Linked DNA regions of Homo sapiens: region 1 is linked to region 2. Evidence: promoter capture Hi-C in 16 types of primary human blood cells and fetal thymus (Javierre and others, 2016). All regions are on one chromosome and are shown on one strand. The core of a region is centred on a gene start or on the middle of the fragment in contact, and the rest is flanking DNA. Distances in the headings are between cores, read along the strand shown. Region 1 has its middle 39 kb from the start of TNKS2-DT. Region 2 holds the start of FGFBP3 (fibroblast growth factor binding protein 3).

What was found. The method cuts DNA at HindIII sites, captures the fragments that hold promoters and counts their contacts. A CHiCAGO score of 5 or more calls a contact.
Region 1: a contact is called between a fragment that was not itself captured here and the fragment with the promoter of FGFBP3 in region 2, in 2 of 17 cell types (activated CD4 T cells and total CD4 T cells). The highest score is 5.6, in activated CD4 T cells.

The regions. Positions count from the first base shown.
Region 1 is chr10:91,755,349-91,762,521 of GRCh38, reverse strand. No RefSeq gene overlaps it. Among named protein-coding and RNA genes, the nearest start is that of TNKS2-DT, 39 kb to the left of the region's middle. The HindIII fragment of the contact is 2,396 bases long and covers 1,313-3,708 here.
Region 2 is chr10:91,907,568-91,914,856 of GRCh38, reverse strand. It overlaps FGFBP3 (fibroblast growth factor binding protein 3), which reads left to right and starts at 5,371. Exons shown (of 2, transcript NM_152429.5): 1 at 5,371-5,459; 2 at 5,810-7,289. The coding sequence starts at 5,888. The coding sequence ends at 6,664. FGFBP3-AS1 (FGFBP3 antisense RNA 1) reads right to left here and starts at 6,728. Exons shown (of 2, transcript NR_199602.1): 1 at 6,608-6,728; 2 at 5,509-5,960. RefSeq lists an enhancer at 5,731-6,025 and a silencer at 5,929-6,498. The HindIII fragment of the contact is 14,773 bases long and covers 697-7,289 here.

The sequences.
Region 1 (7,173 bases), core at 1,261-3,760, 150 kb after region 2:
ATACTGGCTTTGTAGAATGAGTAAGGGAGGATTCCCTCCTCAGCATTTGGAACAGTTTCAGTAGGATTGGTACTACTTCTTTGTACATCTGGCAAAATTTGGCTGTGAATCCCTCTTGTCCTGGATTTTTGTTATTGTTGTCAGGAGATTTTTAAAAAATTACTGATTCAGTTTAACTACTTGCCATTTGTCTGCTCAAGATTTCTATGTCTTCCTGGTTCAATCTTGAGAAGTTGTATGTTTACAGGAATTTGTCTGTTTTCTCTAGGTTTTCTAGTTTGTGCACATAGGGGTGCTAATAATAGTCTCTGATGATCTTCTGTATTTCTGTATTGTCCATTGTAATGTCTCCTTTATAATTTCTGATTGTGCTTATTTGAATCTTCTCTATTTTTTTCTTGATTAACCTAGCAAGGAGTATATCAGCCTGTTTACCTTTTCAAATAACCAACTTTTTGTTGATCCTTTGTTTCTTTTTTTGATCTCAATTTCTCTGATCTTTGTTATTTCTTTTCTTAGGCTAGATTTCGGTGTGGTTTGTTCTTGTTTTTCTAGTTCCTTGAGTTGCAACATTTGGTTGTTAATTTGAGATCTTCCTGTCTTTTTGATGTAGGCAAGCTACAAACTTCCTTGTCAGTGCTGTCAGTGGGGTGTTGAAATTCCCCATTATTATTGTATTGCTGTCTATCTCTTTTCTTATGTCTAGTAGTATTTGTTTTATGAATCTAGGTACTTTGGTGTTGGGTGCATATATATTTAGAATTGTTACATTTTCTTGTTGAATTCTTTTATCATTTTATAATGACCTTCTTTGTCTTTTTTTCCTGTTGTTGGTTTAAAGTCTGTTTTATCTGATGTGAGTATAGCCACTACTGCTTTCTTTGTTTTCTGTTTGTGTGGAATGTCTTTTTCCACTCCTTTACTTTGAGTTTGTAAATATCTTTACCCATTAGGTGGGTTTCTTGTAAGCAGTATTTGGTTGGATTTTATTTTTTATCCACTCTTCCAGTGTATGTCTTTTAAGTGGAGCATTTAGTCCATTTACATTCAAGGTTAATATTGATATATGAATTTTTTTCCCATTATGATGTTAATTGTTACCTAGTTGCTTTGTAGTCTCAATTGTGAAATTGCTTTATAAGACCTGTGAGCTTTATACGTTTGTGTGCTTTTATGATGATGAGTATTGCCTTTTCATTTCCATGTTTAGAACTCCTTTGAACATTTTTTGTACAACTGGTCTAGTGTTGATGGATTTCCTTAGCATTGACTTGTCTGGGAAATACTTTAGTTATTCTTTATTTATAAAGCTTAGTTTAGTAGGATAAAAAATTCTTGGCCAGCAGTTCCTTTTTTTGGAGATGGAGTCTTACTCTGTCGCCCAGGCTGGAGTGCAGTGGTGTGATCTTGGCTCACTGCAATCTCCGCCTCCTGGGCTCAAGCAAGTCTCCTGCCTCAGCCTCTCAAGTAGCTGGGATTATGGGTGCACACCACCATGCCTGGCTAATTGCCAGCAGTTCTTTTCTTTAAGAGAACTGAAAATAGGACCCTAATCTCTTCTAGCTTATAAGATTTCTGCTGAGAAGTTGCTAGTCTGATGAGATTTTCTTTTTTTTTTTGAGATGGAGTCTTGCTCTGTAGCCCAGACTGCAGTGGTGTGATCTCGGCTCACTGCAACCTTCACCTCCTGAGTTCAAGTAATTCTCCTGCCTCAGCCTCCCTAGTAGCTAGGATTACAGGCCGCACCACCATGCCTGGCTAATTTTTGTATTTTTAGTAGAGATGGAGTTTCACCATGTTGGCCAGGCTGCTCTCGAACTCCTGACCTCAGGTGATCCACCTGCCTCCGCCTGCGTCTGCCTCCCAAAGTGTTGGGATTACAGGTGTGAGCCACCTCACCCAGCCAGGATTTTCTTTATAGGTGATTAGTTGCCTCTCTCTTGCTGCTTTTAGAATTTGTTCCTTCACACTGACTTTGGATAGTCTGATGACTATCTGGGCAAAGATTTTAAAAAGAGGACCTAAAGAATGTGCTAACCATAAAAGATAAAATTAATAAACTGAACTTTACTCATCAAAGATAATGTTAAGACCATAACTGGTCAAGCCCCAGAGTAGAAGATAATTATAATATATTTATATCTTACCACTGACTCACACAAATTAATAAAGAAAAGATAGAAAATATGTGTTTTTTTTTGGAAACAGGGTCTTGCCCTATGGCCCAGGCTGGAGGGAAGTGGTGCAATTATAGCTCACTTCAGCCTCAAACTCCTGAGCTCAAGCAATCCTCTCAGCTTGGTCTCCCAAAGTGTTGGGATTACAGGCATGAGCCATTGTACCTAGCCTGAAAATATTATACAAAATGAAGAAAAGATTGGAACATTCTTAACCAATAAGCATATAAACAATTTCATTAGTTTTCAGGGAAAAGCAATTTAAAACTATAATGAGATATCACTATATACCCACCAGAATGGCTACTGTTTAAAGGACTGACAATACCAAGTGCTGAGGAGGAAATGGAATAGTGGAGTTCGTATCCTGCTTGTGGGAGTGTGGATTGGTACAACTACTTCAGAAAATTGGCAGTATTTACTAAAGCTGAACATATGCAAATGTCATGACTCAGCAATTCCACTTCTAAGTATATGCTCACTCAAAGAAATGCATACACATATTGATTCAGTGTATATATAGAAACTTCATAACAGCACTATTCATAATAGCTCCAAACTGGACACCACACAAATGATCATGAATAAGTAAGTTGTGATGCATAGCAGTGAAAACAAAGTAGATGATTCTCATCAACACAATGAAAAGCCAAACAAGTGGGATGAGTCATATAAACTTCAAAACAGGCGAAAGCCATCTCTGTGGTATTAGATGTCAGAATAATGGTCACCACTTCGGTGAGGTGATTAGGAACGTCTGGGCGGCTGGTAGTGTTCTAGTTCTTGATCTAGGTGCTGGTTATTTGGATGTAACTAAACAAATAGCAAATAAAATTTAAAAAGGTAAAATATACAATTGCACAAAAACGTTTATGTTAATTTCACTTTGCGAACATCAGTCAAGCTATATGCTTACAATTTGTGCACTTTTCTTTAGTTTTGTTATACCTCAATAAAAAGTTTACTGAAAAACAACCAACCACCCAACCAATCCTCTCTGCACTTGGTGCTGAATTTTTGTACTAATCAAATAACAAGGAATCAAATACTAAGGAAATAACAAAACATGTGAGTGGAAGAAACAATTTCCTTGATACAGTAGAAATTGTAGCTTATAACAAATTCTATTCAATGTATCATATTTTAACTTTAAAATACCTTTATGACCTAGAGAAAGGTGTGAAACAAATTCCAAATATAAGTAGTGATAGCCAATCTCTTTTCTTAAATATTAAAGAACACAATTTTTATAACCAACAAGTAACTTTTGATCTGACAATATAAACAATTACACTGAGATAATTTTTATATATGTCTTTCAGTCTCCAGGGCAAAATTCCTTACATGTTTTAGAAAATTTTCAGCCTGAAACAAATAAAATTTCTCTCATTATTTTCTAGAACACATTACATTTTTATCATATTGACTTTTTGCAATGCGGGGGTGAACAAATAAAGTAATACATGAACATTTTGTAGGAGTGAGCCTATTAAATGGCTGCATATATGCTTGCCTCTGTAAAAGGTAAGCTTTAAAACTTGAAAACTGCTGCAAGTTGGCATAGCTCTTACAGTTCTTGGTAAAGACAGCCATCTAGTGGAAATAGTTCTATTGACTTTTGAAGGCTGGCAAATAGAATGAATATGAACCCTCAGTTCAACTTAAACTTCAATGTTGGTTTAAGGCTTAAGAAGAGGTAATCCATCTTAACAGGACATTTATAAAGTTTGGGGCATTTTTGGGGCAAATCATAATTTGCATTTGGAAAGTATTTTAATAATGTTCACAAGGTAAAATTCATTCATTTTCGTGAACTAATTATGGACAACATGTTAATAAAATTTCAACTAATTCTAAAAAAAAAAAAAAAAAAAGGAGAGGTATTAAAAAAAAGATCCAGTATTTGGATGCTCCTTATCTTGTGTCCAGGTCTGGAACTGGGGAGGGAGTGTAGGTTGTGGGGTAGGGAAAAAAATTGGTACTTTGGTCTAGGGAGGAATAGAGTGCCATTAGAATAAAGAGAGCGCTGGACTCAAAGATGCCTTGCTTTGGACTGTATTGAATGCTCTCTCTAGGTGGCAGAAAGAAGACAATTTGGTAGGATAGCAGGAAGTTGGTTTTGTTTTTTTTTTTAATGTAAGCTGAACAACCATGCCTAGTTGTGGTGTAGGAAGTTTAGTTAGTTGGTAGCCATCAGCTCAGTAAGAGTTCTAGAATAAGTATTCCTTTAAGTTGATGGTTTAAATAACTAGAGCCTTGCAATAGATCAAAAGCACACTACAGGCTCTGATTATGAGAAGGAATGGTATGAAGCAAAGAGTCTGAATTAGAACTGTGAAGACGTGAGTTAGGTATGCTTCTGGTGTGTATAATCTTATGACTTTGCTTATTTTACTTACCCGAATTACACTTTTCTTATTTATAAAAACTGTAGAGTAACAAAATCCACTCCAATGACTTGTGCCCAGGGAGAGAGCAACTCTCTTTTTTTGGTTTGTTGGAGTCAGTTGTGATTTAGTGATACCCAGAGACACCTAGTAAAATTCTCTCATTATGGCTTATCATTAATGTGTTTCTCTAACTTTTAACAGGTTTGATGATGGATGCCCTGAACTGTAGGTCAGGTTTTAAATGCAGGCTTTTTCTTACCTTTTATGTTCTTCTAAATTAGAAAATGCTAATTCATAATTGTAAGTCATTAAAAGAGCAAATATTTGAAGGCTTTGTCAGATAGTTTTGGACTTTTGAGTTGCATATTAATCCAGAAATTGTGGAGAGATTTTTCTCTGAGCAGCACATTTGGTTCTCTTCTTGTTCAGATGCCGATATTTCAAATGTTTCAAATATTTGAATGTCTAATAACACTCTGCTTGTGTGTGCGTCTAAGAAATATTTCTTGATATTCTGTTGCAGTGTTTGGTTGTAGTTTTAAAATATGCTTTTGCTCTATCCATAGCTAGTATTCTATCACTACCAAATTATTGATACAGTTTCCATTTCACATCACAGATGGACACAAAATAGATGTTAAACATGTTCTCTTCCTCTGTAGCATGCATTTTCAGTGGTAAACACATAAAGTCATGAGGTCCTTCCTATATCAGGGTCCCCAATCTCTATGCTGTGGAATGGTACAAGTCAGTGGTCTGTTAGGAACTGGGTTGCACAACAGGAGGTGAGCAGCTGGTAAGTGAGCATTACCAGTTGAGATTTGCTTCCTTTCAGATCATTGGCAGCATCAGATTCTCACAGGAGTGCGAACCCTATTGCGAACGGTGCATGCAAGGGATCTAGGTTGCATGCTCCTTATGAGAATCTAATGCCTGATGATCTGAGGTGGAAGAGTTTCATCCCGAAACCATCCCCCCATCCCCATCTGTGGAAAAATTGTCTTCCGTGAAACTGACCCCTGGTGCCAAAAAGGTTGGGGGCCATTAATCTATATAATATATATAATGTTAAGAGGTTGCCATGGCTTGAATATTTGTCACTTCCAAAACTCATGTTGAAATTTAATCCCCAATGTGGCAGTATTGAGAGGTAGGATATTTAAGGGGTGATTGAACCTTGAGGGCTCTGCTCTTATGAATGGATTAATCCATTTATGGATTAATGGATTAGAGGGTTAATGGATTAATAGGTTATCATGGGAATGGAACTGGTGGCTTTATAAAAAGAGGAAGAGAGACCTGAGTATAGCGCATTAACATGTTCAGTCTCCTTACCATGTGATCTCCTGTACCACCACTGGGCTCTGTACAGGATTCCCACCAGCAAGAAAGCTCTCACCAGATGTGGCCCCTTGACCTTGGACTTCTCAGCCTCCAGAACTTAAGAAACAAATTCCTTTTCTCTACAAATTACCCCGTTTCAAGTATTTTGTTATAAGCACAGAAAATGAACTAAGACAGAGGTGACTCATCATTTCAGTGGTTTTGAGCAACTATGTAGAATGAAGTACATTCTAGCACAGATATGTGATAGTAATTACCTTCCATATAGCTATATTTCAGATACTCAGAGTTCAATAGTGTTATCTGACAAATTTTGCTAATAGCTCATTATGCTTTCTAGAAGAAAAACATCAATTTCATTGATTATGGCTATTACTACAAACTTCTTACCAATACTATAACTTATACCTGTTTTTACTGTAAGGAATGAAACTTTGAATGATGTTTCTGTAATTCGGTCTCTTTTGTGCCTTTTGTAATCAAGATTCCTCAATTTAAGACTGGAAAGCATTATCTTGTGCATATTTGGTTACTGGAGAGATCATGGTGCTTTAACTGAAAATGACCCTAATATTTCAAAGTCATAAACCAGTTGATGAATTTTCATAAGAGATAATGTTCTGGAGACTAAGAGCAAATGGCTCATCAGTTCTCAAAAATTCTATCTTCAGATGCCAATCATCATACTTAGTGGAACTTGTCTTTTAAAGCTTCTGTATGGAAAAATTACACTCAGATGTACCTGAACCAATTCTAGTTCTGTATTCACACTATAGATTTGTGATACAATTCATAATGGTAATATTTTTGTTATAATTTTAATCACTATTTTTATACCTTAGTGAACCATTGTTGAGCTTCAATGTATGTTTTCAAATCAGGGATATTACTCAATATAATAGAAAAAACTGCACATTTTACAAACATAAAAATTAATGCCATATCATGTTTAAAAAGTTAGTTTTTTTAAAATTTATTATTATTATACTTTAAGTTTTAGGGTACATGTGCACAATGTGCAGGTTAGTTACATATGTATACATGTGCCATGCTGGTGCGCTGCACCCACTAACTCGTCATCTAGCATTAGGTATATCTCCCAGTGCTATCCCTACCCCCTCCCCCCACCCCACAACAGTCCCCAGAGTGTGATGTTCCCCTTCCTGTGTCCATGTGTTGTTCTCATTGTTCAATTCCCACCTATGAGTGAGAATATGCGGTGTTTGGTTTTTTGTTCTTGTGATAGTTTACTGAGAATGATG
Region 2 (7,289 bases), core at 4,122-6,621:
TGATTTTAAATTATATTGAAGCCTATAATCCCAGCACTTTTGGAGGCTGAGGCAGGAGGATTGCTTTAGCCCAGGAATTTGAGACAAGCCTGGGCAACATAGTGACACTGTGTCTCTATGAAAAGTAGAAAAAATTATCCAGGTCTGGTGGCACATGTCTGTAGTCCCAGCTACTCAGGAGGCTGATGTGGGAGGATTGCTTGAGCCTAGAGTTTGAGGCTGCAGTGAGCCATGATCATGCCACTGCCTTCCAGCCTGGGCAACAGAGCGAGACCCTGTCTCAAAAAAAATTATATTATAAAGCTTTAGTAATCAAAACAGTAATGGTACTGGCATAAAAACGGACACATAGAACAATGGAACAGAATAGAGAAGAAATAAATTCAAACATATATGGTCAACTAATTTTTGATAAGAGACACAATGGGATAAGGGTAGTCTCAATAGTGCTGGGAAAACTGGATTTCCGTATGCAAAAGAATGAAATTTGATCATTATCTTACACTATACAAAAACATCAACTCAAAATGGATAAAGAACCTAATTGTAAGACCAGGAACTATCAAACTCCCAGAAGAGAACATAGGGGAAAATCCCCTGGATATGGACCTTGGCAATGAGTTTTGGACATCACACCAAAAGCTCAAGCCACAAAAGCGACAATAAATAAATGGTACTACATGAAACTAAAAAGCTTCTGCACAGCCAAGGAAACAATCAACAAATAAGTGGCAGCTACAGATTGGGAAAAAATATCTGTGAACCATATATCAAATAAGGGGTTACTGTCCAAAATTTATAAAGCACTCATACAACTCAATGGTAGAAAAACAAATAACCTGATTTAAAAATGGGCAAAAAGACCTGAATACACATTTTTCCAAAGAAAACATGAAAATCACCAACAGGTATATGAAAGGGTGCTCAACACCATTAATCATCAGGGAATTGTAAATCAAAACCACTATGAGATACTACCTCACACCCGTTAGGATGGCTATTACCAAAAAGTCAAAAGATAAATGTTGGCAAGGATGTGGGGAAAAGGTTGTACACTCTTGGTGAGAATGTAGATTGGTACAGCCATTATGGAAAACAGTATGGAGATTTGTAAAGAAATTAAAAATCAACTACTATGTGACCCAGCAATTCCTCTTCTGGGCATATATCCAAAGAAAATGAAATGATCACCTCATAAAGATATCTGCACTTTCATGTTAATTGCAGCATTATTTACAATAGCCAAGGTATGGAAACAACCTAAATGGGTAAACAAAATGTGGTATATACATACAATGGAATATTATTCAGACTTAAAAATGAAATAAATTCAGATACATGCTATAACACAGATAAACCTTGAAGACATTGTGTTAAGTGAAATAAGCCAATCACAAAGGACAAATACTGTAGGATTACACTTACCATAAGATATCTAGAGTGGTCAAATTCACAGAGACAGAAAGTAGAATGATGGTTGCCAGGGGCTGGGGGAAGGGAGGAATGGGTACAGAGTTTCAGTTTTGGAGGACGAAAGAAAGTTCTGGAGATGGATAGCTATAATGGTTGCAGAACAGTGTGAATCTTTTTAATGTCACTGAAGAGTACACCTAAAAATAGTTAAAACAACAAATTTTATGTTATGCATATTATGCCACAGTTTTTTAAAAAATAACTCCCCTTTTCTGATATTGCATAATATGTCTATGTGCCCTTACTTTTTACTCTGGGAACAGTGTTTGTGACAGCGAAGCATGGTCTCTGGAGTATCTCTTAATTACAGCTTTCAGATAATAAATTTTTTTATTGCAATTAGAGCATTATGCCACAAGATGTCATTCTTTCATTAAAAATGGTACCAATTCGGTTCAGTAGTTGTTAACAAAAAGTAATGCCAAGGCAACAGACAAAAGCCTGGGATTACTCATCCATGCTTCACATATACAAAGACAGTTTTCTGGGAAAGAAAGGGCTTCCAAGTGTGAAATGTATTAATTAGCTACTCTTATTTTTGAAACTTGTTAATGTTTCTAATCTTCATAGGTACAAATTGGTTTTCATTATAAGTTGAATTGGTGTAATTTTTTTTTTTATTTTTATGTTTTTTGTTTTTTTGAGAAAGAGTCTTGCTCTGTTGCCCAGGCTGGAGTGCAGTGGTGTGACCTCGGCTCACTGCAATCTCTGCCTCCCGGATTCAAGTGATTCTCCTGCCTCAGCCTCCCGAGTAGCTGGGATTACAGGCGTGCACTACCATGCCCAGCTACTTTTTGTATTTTTAGTAGAGATGGGGTTTTGCCATGTTGGCCAGGCTGGTCTCGAACTCCTGACCTCAGGTGATCCACCCGCCTTGGCTTCCCAAAGTGCTGGGATTACAGATGTGAGCCACCATGCCCAGCCTGAATTGGTATAATTAAAACATAACTAATAGTAAAATACAAAGACAAAACATAAAGATCACTGATCACTGAAAGATGTAAGTGGTTTTATCACTAAATGATGTGTGAACCTGGACAAGTTATCTAGTTTCTCTGATTTTACCAGAGTGTTAAAAACTTCCTTTCTGAAGTCAATATACATTGCTATATATTTAATATATACTACTATATATTTAAACATATTCTTCTAATTCTAAAGTATTTTGGTTTTTATAGTAGTAACCAAACTATAATTGTTCAAATATAATACTAACAGGAGTTCAGTAATAGAAAATGCTATATGCAAGAGGACATTAGGAAATATAATAAGAATTCCTGATATCTTGAGGAAGTATTTAAGTAAAATATTTACTTGTGTAAAAAAATTACAGTCAGAGGTATAAACTTCTGCAATTAAAAAAAATCACATTTATTAATGAGAACATTTTTAAAAGATGATGGAATATTCTGAAGTTTTAAAACAGCTTTGCTAAGGGTCATTTCTGTGTGTCACTTTATTTCTTTTTATATAGCTATAGTATATTTAAACAATAATGCTGTCTTTTATAAGGGTTTGTCTATTTACCTATTCTTTACTCAGACATTGATGTAGACCTTGTCAGATTATTCTGAGTATTGTTAACAGTGCCTTTTTGATGGAATTCACACTTTTTGGCTGTCAACTTGTGCCATATACACACAAAATTTTGTGGAAGGCAGTTTTAATTTTTTGAAGAACATCTGTCAAAATTTAAGAAAACAAATGTATAAAATTCCATTTTTTCCAGTGTTTAGCATTTCTAGTAAGCAGTGAGGTTTTTTGTTTGACATACAGTGATGATGGCATTATTGACAAGCTATACATGAGACTGCAGATTATACTGAATCATGTTAAATGTACAGAAATAAAATATTAGATTTATATCAAACTTTCGCATTTGAACCAGTGGGGAAAACCCCACAGAAATCAGTAAGTTAACATTTCAATGTCTTTCTTATTTGACTAAGTGGAAAGAGAGTCTTTAAAATGTATAACCTGCCATTATGTAATTTGGTTTCATTTTATTCTACCTGTTGTGTGAGTTTAGTATATTTAATTTACTTTGTGTTACTCTACATACTGTTTATTTTTGTTACAGTTTTTAATTGAAGATGGACTCTGAAAGTGGTATAGGACCAGTGTCTTATTAATATCATTAATATATTAAGAGGAGCCACACAAAACCCATGACAAAATGAATGGAAATATTCTTTCTAAAAATTTAGAAAATTTTATACTTTTGCATTTATTATGTAAAATTATTTGTTTTACAATATCAAAATTTTTCGTTTAAAGAAAAAAATGCCATGAAACATTTGAACTGATGAGCCACAGAACTTCAGTTGAAATTTTTTTCACTTTTTAGCATGCTAAATATACATCTCAGTTTAAATATTCTGTTTAATGGCCATTTATAAATTCAAGCACTACCACTGGTCAGTTTTGTGTGATAGAATAAAAATATGTTACCTGCAGTGTAAGTATAGCACACTGTCAAATTCTTTTCCTTAAGGTGCACAGTAAATGTACAGATAGTTATAGGCCACTGTTTTTGCAATGTAGTACATTTCTAATCTATTATTCCTAACCTATTATAACTGTTTGCAGAGAGAAAATAATTGAATTTTTCTAATAATCTGTAAAATTATGCTAACTTCTACAAGTAGGCTTCTAAATAAAAATTTTAAAAAGAGCAAAAAAAAAAAAAAAGAAAGAAAAAACAGCTTTGCTTGGTCAGCACTTTGAGAGGCTGAGGCAGGTGGCTCATCTCAGGTCAGGAGTTCGATACCAGACTGGGCAACATGGTGAAACCCCTTCTCCACTAAAAATTAGCTGGGTGTTGTGGCAGGCACCTGTAATTCCAGCTACTGGGGAGGCTGAGGCAGGTGAATCGCTTGAACCGGGAAGGCAGAGGTTGCAGTGAGCCGAGATAGCACCACTGCGCTCCAGCCTGGGTGACAGAGTGAGCTCCCGTCTCAAAACAAACAAACAAACAAACAAACAAACAAACCCCCGCACACACACACAATCCCCCCCTCCAGAAAAAGCAGCTTTGCTTAAATGTAACATTTTCAAGATTCAAGAACACATTCATTCTCTCTCTCTTTTTTTTTTTTTTTGAGAGGCAGTCTCGCCCTGTCCCGGGTTCAAGTGATTCTCCTGCCTCAGCCTCCTGAGTAGCTGGGATTACAGGCATCTGCCACCACGCCTGGCTAATTTTTGTATTTTTAGTAGAGACGGGATTTCACCAGGCCAGGCTGGTCTCACATTCTTAACTATTATACCATTTCAATTGGTAATCTTACCGTTCAACTACTATAATACAAATAATTTTTTTAAACTTCTAATTTTTGGAGGACCCTTATAACTGATTTCTAATACCTAAAAATAATAAAAAGCCCAAATGTCCACTCCTGGGTGAACTGCTGGGCACTATTGTATGTTAATAAACTAGGATATTATATTTTTATTAGTAGTAACAATTATTAAGATTGAGAGTCTTAAGAAAGGCTATTGGAAATAATAGGTAAAAATGTAGAACTCAGAATATGAGAAATAGAATGTAAATGATATAATTGTGTAAAAAATGCCTAGTTTAGAATACTGAAGTTTGTTTTGTTTCATTTTATTTAACTTTTAAAACTTAGATCTTTTGTTTAATTTTTATTTTTTGGATGGTTAAGTACATGAAAGAAGAAAAACTTGGTTAATTTTGCCTGATTATTTTAAACATTGGAAGCAAAATACAAGATTTGTATTTCATACTACAGGACCGCTTCCATCATCCATCTGGAGAGACAGAGAGAGAGAGGGAGAGAGAGAGAGAAGCGCGGCGGTGATAAGTCTCCCAGTGTGAGAGAAATCGGGGAGGGGCGAAGAAGGGTAGGCCTCTTCTGTTCCATTGATACCACGTTCATTCACAGGGAGCCGGCTAAAACAGACTACTCCCCCGTGCAGTCGTTCCCTCTACCCTAATAAGGCTTTGGCGCCTCTCCCAGAACTCGGTAAGTTCAAAGTGTAGTAAAGTGCATGTTTCCAAGGAATCATCTGAAATGATTTTGTAGATAGTTTATTGCAGGTTGGAGAAGGGAGAAAATGAAGGAAGGGGTAGAGGGGGCAATTATCACGCATCGTTTTGCTATCGTATTTGCAAGGGGAAGAAAATCTCAATGCATACATGGTTCGAAAGTGATTATTTAGACAGTAAGCAGTTTCCCCAGGAAAGCTCCTCAGAGGGTCTCCTCGCAGGCTGCAGATTCTAGAAAGTCTGCGGAAGAGTAGTTCGCAGGTGCATGTGTCTGGGCGAAGCGCTGCGTGTGGCTCAGTTGGTGGCAGTCTCTGCCTCTGTCCGCAGGTCCTGGGGAATGCTCTTTGCCTGGTCCAGCCCCGACAAACGTGGTCTGAGAACAGCGGAGCGCGGAAACCGCGGAGCATGACTCCTCCGAAGCTGCGAGCGTCGCTGTCGCCGTCGCTGCTGCTGCTGCTGAGTGGTTGCCTCCTCGCGGCTGCTCGGAGGGAGAAAGGGGCGGCTAGCAACGTGGCGGAGCCGGTCCCCGGGCCCACTGGCGGCTCCTCGGGTCGCTTCCTCAGCCCCGAGCAGCACGCGTGCAGCTGGCAGCTCCTGCTGCCCGCCCCGGAGGCCGCAGCGGGCAGCGAGCTGGCGCTGCGCTGCCAGAGCCCGGACGGGGCGCGCCACCAGTGCGCCTACCGCGGGCATCCGGAGCGCTGCGCAGCCTACGCCGCTCGCCGCGCGCACTTCTGGAAGCAGGTGCTGGGAGGGCTGCGCAAGAAGCGGAGGCCCTGTCACGACCCCGCGCCGCTCCAGGCCCGCTTGTGCGCGGGCAAGAAGGGCCACGGCGCCGAGCTGCGGCTAGTGCCCCGCGCGTCCCCGCCCGCACGCCCCACCGTCGCGGGATTCGCGGGGGAGTCCAAGCCCCGGGCCCGGAACCGGGGGCGGACCCGGGAGCGTGCGTCCGGCCCAGCCGCTGGGACCCCGCCTCCCCAAAGCGCACCGCCCAAAGAAAACCCCTCAGAGAGGAAGACCAACGAGGGCAAGAGGAAGGCGGCCTTGGTCCCCAACGAGGAGCGACCCATGGGGACCGGGCCCGACCCCGACGGGCTGGACGGGAACGCGGAGCTCACGGAGACCTACTGCGCTGAGAAGTGGCACTCCCTCTGCAACTTCTTTGTCAATTTCTGGAACGGCTGAGACTGCCTGCCGGCTTAGGGAGGGTTGATGGGGGAGGCGTGGGGAAGGGAAAGCTAAGGGCGTCTTAGACCGGGGGGTACTGTGATAGAGATTGGGGAGAAGTCCAGGTTCTCGAATGGGGGTGGGGGCAAGGGTAAGGGTGAGATGCTTGGGATGAGAGTGTAAGGGGTATGGAGAATCTCTGGGATAGCAGAGAAGTTAAAAATTTTGAAAAGTCTCAGTCCTGATTAAGAGCAGGAAAAATAATGGAAACAGAAATAGGCGTACTTTAAATGTGCAAAAACTGGAGACTGGGGAGAGAAATCGATGCAGAGGGAGGCTGAGAATAAGGGGGAGATAGAGTGACTAAAGTGATGTGAGTCCCATGTGGGGAGGGGGATGCAATGTTTATTGTTTAACATTTCTATTAAATGCAGCCATGAGCAATTGCCAACCTGAGCCAGGTTGAATCAATGTCTTCTCACTTAATCAGCTAACAAGACTGCAGACTTTTTTTCCGTTTCTGAATTGGTATAAACTTGGATGCGGCGTGGTGGGTGTCATAGATAACCTCTATAGGGACAGAAGCCTCACAGGTCAAAACTGGCTCCAAGGAAAGTTTTGCAGAATGATTTCCTTTCCATTC